Regions from separate parts of the Homo sapiens genome. Here region 2 is linked to region 1. Evidence: promoter capture Hi-C in 16 types of primary human blood cells and fetal thymus (Javierre and others, 2016). All regions are on one chromosome and are shown on one strand. Each heading gives the region's core, a stretch centred on a gene start or on the middle of the fragment in contact. The rest is flanking DNA. Distances are from core to core; before and after follow the strand shown.

Evidence for each region. Contacts are between HindIII fragments. The CHiCAGO score rates a contact against its expected background, and 5 or more counts as called.
Region 2: a fragment that was not itself captured here is called in contact with the fragment with the promoter of PLCB2 in region 1 in 2 of 17 cell types (fetal thymus and activated CD4 T cells); the score reaches 5.4 in fetal thymus.

What each region holds. Positions count from the first base shown.
Region 1 is chr15:40,306,422-40,309,852 of GRCh38, reverse strand. PLCB2 (phospholipase C beta 2) reads left to right here and starts at 1,918. Exons shown (of 32, transcript NM_004573.3): 1 at 1,918-2,264. The coding sequence starts at 2,181. The HindIII fragment of the contact is 15,701 bases long and covers 1-3,431 here.
Region 2 is chr15:39,935,399-39,938,829 of GRCh38, reverse strand. All of the region lies in intron 1 of EIF2AK4 (eukaryotic translation initiation factor 2 alpha kinase 4), which reads right to left. Among named protein-coding and RNA genes, the nearest start is that of EIF2AK4, 3.0 kb to the right of the region's middle. The HindIII fragment of the contact is 2,037 bases long and covers 719-2,755 here.

The sequences.
Region 1 (3,431 bases), core at 669-3,168:
TGACATCACTGAGTAAAGATGGGCAAGGCTTTGTTCTGTGGATTCGGAGCTGGAGATGGAAAGGAACAGAGTGAGGAGCCCTGAAATCCTGAAATGAGGAGAGGAGGCTGTCCCTTTCCTCCTCAGGCTGAGGGGGAGGAATGGACTGGTCTCTCCAGGCCCAAAGTGGAGAGGGGGCTGATGGCTACAGGACAGATGAAAGGGAGGGACTTGGGTGCCGGGACCAGGGCAGCCGCAGGTGACAGGTGCAGGGGCTTTGGGAAGGGACAGGGATTTCCCTTGCAAAATCCATTCAAACAGATATCGAGGGAACCTGATCCCAGGGAGGAACCCAGAACAGCATGGGCTGCCAGAGGGGCCCCCAGAAGGGCCCCAGACTGGAGGGAGGGAGAGAGGAGAGATGACGCTAAGGGACTGGGGGAAACGAGGAAGAAGAGTCCTCTGAATTGTTACCATTTCCAGAGGCTTGGTCAGGCCCTGCTCCGGCTCCATCCCCCGGCCCTAGAATTGCTCTTCTGCAGATTATTTCTGTGCTGGGAATTCCCTTAGCTCCAGCCTCCACTGGGCAGTTTATTATCTTAATTCCGCATGAAGAGTGTCCTCCCTCACCCTCCACCCTGCCCTGGACCAGACCTCCAGCCGCGACAATTCTAGGGCCTGGGTGAGGGTCTTACCGTTGTTGGGGGTATGCAAAGCCCCATGGGGGGGTGACCCAGGGCAAAAGGCCAGGCCCCAGAGGGGAAGGAAGTCTTGGGTAGAGCTCCCTGCCTCCCAGGCTGGGCTAAGAAGGGCGATAAGAGGAGCAGATTAGGCAAGAGGAAGTGGGCTGGGCTGAGCTGGACTGGTGCTGAACTCCCTGGGCCTGGGGCAGAGTGTGGGTCAGGCACCTGAGCAGCTGGGGCTGAGCCTGGCCAACCAGAGCAGCCATCCCTCCGCCCCAGCCCCGCTGCAGGCTGGGGTACACAGCAGAGGCGGGCACACGGAGGAGAGAGGAGAGCGCAGTGGAGGCAGGGGCTAGGGCTGCTCAGTGGGGGTCCAGGCCTCAGGCAGTCCCAGAGGCCCAGAGGTGGGAGTCTGGTGAGGTGGGTGAGGGGAGTGATTGCCTTGCCTCATGTGCCCCTCATTTTCTTTCTTTTTTTATTTTTTTCGAGATGGAGTCTTGCTCTGTCGCCCAGGCTGGAGTGCAGTGGCGCCATCTCGGCTCATTGCAAGCTCCGCCTCCTGGGTTCATGCCATTCTCCTGCCTCAGCCTCCCGAGTAGCTGGGACTACAGGCGCCGCTGCCACGCCCAGCTAATTTTTTGCATTTTTAGTAGAGACAGGGTTTCACCGTGTTAGCCAGGATGGTCTCGATCTCCTGACCTCGTGATCCGCCCGCCTCGGCCTCCCAAAGTGCTAGGATTACAGGCGTGAGCCACCGCACCCGCCCGCCCGGCAGGTGCACCTCATTTTCATGGGGGAGGAAGCATTGAGAAAGAGGAGCCGTGTGTTCAGCAAACTTTGCTTATTCAAAACACTCCATTCCAGCTGGGCCCTGTCCCCACCCCACCCCTGCCTCTACGGTGCTCCCAACCTTTGGGGTCAGATGCCCATGCTCTGGACCCTTCCCCTGAGGAGGTCCTTTCTCCTAGTGAGCTCCCTGTGCCTTCCCTCAGTCCAGGCCTGGGCAGCAGTCTCCCCAGCTGGTCTCCATGTCGTCCTTCTCCAGCCCTCCTGGGCCAAATCTGACCAGAGACCACCACAGGGACTGAGAGGCCCTGGCTCCAAGGCGACCCGGCCTCATGACCACGTCTCCGCTGTGAGCAGCGCAGAGAAGGAAGCCCAGAGCAGGAAGTGCTGAGAGGCACAGGGTGGGGCTGGGGGTGGGGGCGGGGGCCTCCAGAAGAGGCGGGGGCTTCCTGCTTCAGCCTCCTTGGGCAGAAGCAGTGACCACAGGCCCCCATGGCAGGCAGGGCGGGTGGGAGGAGGGTGATTTACAAGGCAGATGGGCCTCTGGCTACAGCTCAGTCCTGCACTCAGCCAGGGCCACCCCAGGGGCTATAAGAGCAACTAGATTTCTGGAGCAGCTCGGGGATGGGTGCCATTTGAGCCCAGCTTGGCTCCCCCTCCTGGCTGGCCTCCTTCCTGCCCTTCTGCCTGCCTGTGTCTGCTGAGATTCTGCAAAGAGGAACGCTTGGCACCATGTCTCTGCTCAACCCTGTCCTGCTGCCCCCCAAGGTGAAGGCCTATCTGAGCCAAGGGGAGCGCTTCATCAAATGGGATGATGTAAGTGGGGCAGGGGCCTCAGCTGCTGGAGCACCAGGTGGTGGGGGCCGGGCTGCTACGGGGCTTTGCTTGGGTGGGAGGATTGGTTTATGTCTCCTAGGATCCAGGCGCCTGTGTGGTTTGGCCAGGCAGCTGACACCACTGCTTGGATAAACAAACCTGGGATTAAGGGTGTATGTCCCCAGCTAAAGGGCTAAGCCTTGGTTCTAGGTGTGAGAAGTGGGTGAGCTGCCTGGGTGGTCACTGGAGGTAGTTTATTTGGGTCTGCTTCTCTTCTCCTTCAAACCCCCAAGAGAAGAGGAGGAAAGTGCACCCCAGAGCTGAGGCAGGCTAGGAGGAGAGGTGAGCTCGTCCCCGCTCCCAGCACAGATGTCTTGCCCTTGCTCCGGCAGGGCGCTCAGACCCAGCTCCTTCACCCCCTCCACTGGGCATCATCCTGTCCAGGGAAGCCTTGCTCTCCCCTGCGCTGCTGTGGGGGCAGCCACAAAAGGCCCCTGGACCTAAGTGAGAACTAGAGGCTTCTGCTCCCAGGGAAGGAGCTGATTTGACTTCTGCTACCCCTTGCTGGGCTCAGCATTGCTCCCCGATGCAGGCCTGTCAGCAAGGGAAGGGGAAGACACTGCTGCACCCTGCAGCCCTCTCTCTGCTGTGTCTGTTCCTTCCTACACGGGGCTGCTCCCAGGCTCTGGTTCTCCTGGCCCCTGAAAATGTTACCTTAGGCCAGGGATTCTCTTAGGCTGGAGAGAACAATATGGAGATTCTCCTTCAGGGAGGGGAGGCTGCTGGGCTCGCCCAGTCTGAGAGTTAGAGTGCTGGGCTTGTCCCAGGAAGGGAAATGAAGGCTTGGTGGGGGAGGGAAGACAGCCCTTAGTGCTGACTTGTCCACCTGATGGGAGGTGGGATGAGGGGGTCTGGGTCTAGGCCCTTCGGGGCTGGGCTAGGCTAGGGGATCTCGCTGCCCATGACTATGGGTTGGGGCCCTGTGGTGAGATGCTTCCTGCTTCCCTAGGAGTGATGTGGGGTTGGTGTAGCATGGCAGTGGCATGGAGGTGACATGCCCCAGGAGCCTGTGGAATGAGGGAAGTGGCTCAGAATGAAAAGCGAAGTGGCCTCTCTCAGTTCCTCTGGGCAGTGTGTGTAACCTGACTGGGCAGAGGGTCACAGGGT
Region 2 (3,431 bases), core at 488-2,987, 370 kb after region 1:
AAACAATGGCTGAGCGCTCCCATGGTCCAGGCACCTTACCAACTTTGCAAGGCAGGTGTCATCTCCATTTTACAGATACAGAAGCTCAGGCTCAGGGAGTTTTACATTCTTGCCTACAGATACACAGGGACAGAGCTGGGATTCAAACCCAGCCTTAACTCCAAACCCTGTCTCCTCCCATAAGCCACTCTTTTATTATGCCATCCTAAGTTGCTGGGATTGAGCCTTGATTTTTTTCTCTGAATGTCCTGGCAGGCAGGGCAAAAAGAGAAACGTGGTATCATCAGAAAAGAGAAAGCCTAAAAATTATTTTAGGGAAGCAAAGTACTTATAATACTAAATTCTAACAGAAATTTATAACGTGAACCTTACAAGGAGTACCATATAATAAACACTGTACTCTTCTACTATGTGTACAAAATTTGTAAGATCAGTTCTTATATGGCTTTATAATAATCCTTGATAAATGTGTGGGTCCTTCCATAAAGCATAATTCTGCGAATGTGGTCTGGGGAAGGGTTAAGCACTCTTTGGTCCACAGGTCTTTCATCCACTCATTCACCCATCACACATCCATCACCCATATTTGCTAAGCACTGACTCTGTGTCAGGCACTGTGCTTAGTCCACGGAGGTGAGAACACAGATATGGTTCCAGCTCTCATGGAACTTCAGTCTGGTGGGGGAAAACAAACATAATAAACACATAAGTACAAGCTTAGAGAGTGCCGTTGAAGAGATGACGTGGTGCTCTCCTTAACAAACGACTTGGGGTGTGAGGGTATATACTTAAATGTGGTTATCAAAGAAGAACTATCTGAGGATGTAGCATTGAAGCTGAGACAAGCCAAGAGACCAAGCATTCCAGGCAAGGAAAAAAAGAGACTTGAAATACATTTGAGAATTATTTCATTCAGTAACAATTTTTGAAAGTTTTTTGTTTGTTTTACCAGGCACTGGGCTTGTAGGAATGGCATTTCAAATGAGTGGAAGACACTGAAAAATTCAATTGCCTATATTTGTCTAGCTGCCTAGCTGGAGGAGGAGGGATGCACACGGGGAGGTGGCCTAGGCCCGTACTTTGATGGAACGAAGAACTTAAAAAAAAAAACCTACTTATATCTTTATTTGATGAAAATTTAAAAACGAAGTCATGAACAAGTTAAAAGTAAACTTTGACGAATTTGGTTTTTAGTAACATTGGAACAGAGGGGGAAAAAAAACCCACAGGGACCATAAAAGAAAAAAAAGGTCATTTTGACTCTATCAACATTTTTTAAATCACATAAATTACGTAAATAAATGCATATAATTAGGAGAAAAATATATGCATTATATGACCCAAAATGCTAGTTTTCTTAAGATATTTAGCTCTTACAAATAAACAAGAAAATGGACCACAGAGTAGAAAAATAAACCAGAGTATGAGCAGTTCACAGAAAAAGAAAAATCAATGGTTTGTAAACAAAGGTGTTCTAGATAATTTATAAATAAATAAAAATTAAAATGAGATATGTTTCATTTATGTGGCAAAGATGAAAAAGTCTAACATATATAGTATTGTTGAAGATAAAGGAAAACAAACACCACCATACACTACTGGGGGATCCAGGGATTGAAGCAAGTTTTTTGGAGGGATGTTTCCAAAAGCTATCAAATTATAAATGAGCAGACCTTTTGCTGCTGTGGAAAGCTAGCCAAAATAAGTTAGTAATTTGTAACTATCTATAAATTATAGATACTTTAAACTAGCAGTGTCTAAACTTTTTACAAATGCAAAAGTTTTTAGCATGCACCTCAAAATGTTATTTATAAATGATATACATATGCTACTAAACTGAAATTTATATTACAACACATCCCCACTAAAAGAAGTTGAAAAAAAAATCTAACCTGAATTTATTGGCAGCAAATTTAGCCTGAACTGACATGAGGTTAGTTATAGTGTTTATTTGTTCAGTGTGAAATTTGAGTATTTCTATGTTTCATTGTGTTTGATTTTCGATGCTGCCCCAGACACTGAGGAAGGTATTAGGTAATGTGTGGAATGTGCACACATAAACGTGAACAGAAGCACTTCTGAATTCTGAAACCCATCAAGTCTCAAGAGTTTTGGATAAAAGGCTGGGCACGGTGGCTCACACCTGTAATCCCAGGACTTTGGGAGGCGAGGCGGGAGGACTTGAGGTCAGGAATTCGAGACCAGCCTGGCCAACATAATGAAACTCCATCTCTACTAAAAATACAAAAATTAGCCAGGTGTGGAGGCGGGTACCTGTAATCCCAGCTGCTCAGGAGGCTGAGGCACAAGAATCGCTTGAACCTGGGAGGTGGAGGTTGCAGTGAGCCGAGATTGCTCCACCGCACTCCAGCCCGGGCGACAGAGAGAAACTCCCTCTCAATAAAGAGTTTTGGATAAAGGATTTTGGACCTGCATCACTTTTCCCTGGCAAATAGCAGGTGATAATAAGTGCTTGTTGAATGACTAAACTCTGATTCATCCTTGAGACCATCAATTATTTGCCTGCCAGTCCTATGAATGTGTTGAGGCCATTTGCCCGGTGTACAATAGGCCACAGACAGCTATTTAAATTCTTCTGCCTGCCTTCTATAGTTTTTGCTTTGGTTTGTCTAGTATTCCATCTTGTTATGAAAGCCACCAGCTATAAATTCTTGAGGTTATCAATATCCCTACCTAAAAGAAGTTGCTTTTTCTCTTCCATTTTTCTGCAGCCCTAGGAGCAGACAACTAAGCTTGTATAAAGTAAACAAACTAGTTCAGAATGAAGCCTTAGGAGCTTTGTGTTGAGTCCCATGTACACTTTGAGACACCTATTTTGGCTGCTTCTTGGGCCTACTTCCTGATTCTCAAGGTTTGGGAAGATAGAAGTTCCCCAGTCACCAACTTCTCTGTCATGTTAAGGGGAATAATTTATATTTTTACCATTTCAGGTTAAAAATAACTTCATATTATTAAGCATTAGAAAAGTAAGCTCCCTGAGGGCAAGGATTTTTGTCTGTTTTGCCCACAGCTGTATTCCTAATGCCTAAAACAAATATTTAATGAAGGAAGAAGCACCCTGAGTTTGAGAGAGAATATTTTGTCCTGATAGCTCCAGAAGATGGTATTTCTTGAGGAAATCCTGGATGTGTAGATAGAGCAGATGTTGTGAAATGCCAAAGTTAAAAGCAGATGAAGAGGCCAGGCGCGGTGGCCCACACCTGTAATCCCAGCACTTTCAGAGGCCAAGGTGAGAGGATTGCATGAGCTCAGGAACTTGATACCAGCCCGGGCAACAGAGCAAGACTCTGTCTCTACAAAAAATTAAAAAAATTAACCAGGTGTAGTGGCATGTGCCTGTAGTCCCAGGTACTTGACAGGCTGAGGCAGAAGGATTGCTTGAGAATAAGCTGCAGTGAGCCGTGGTCATG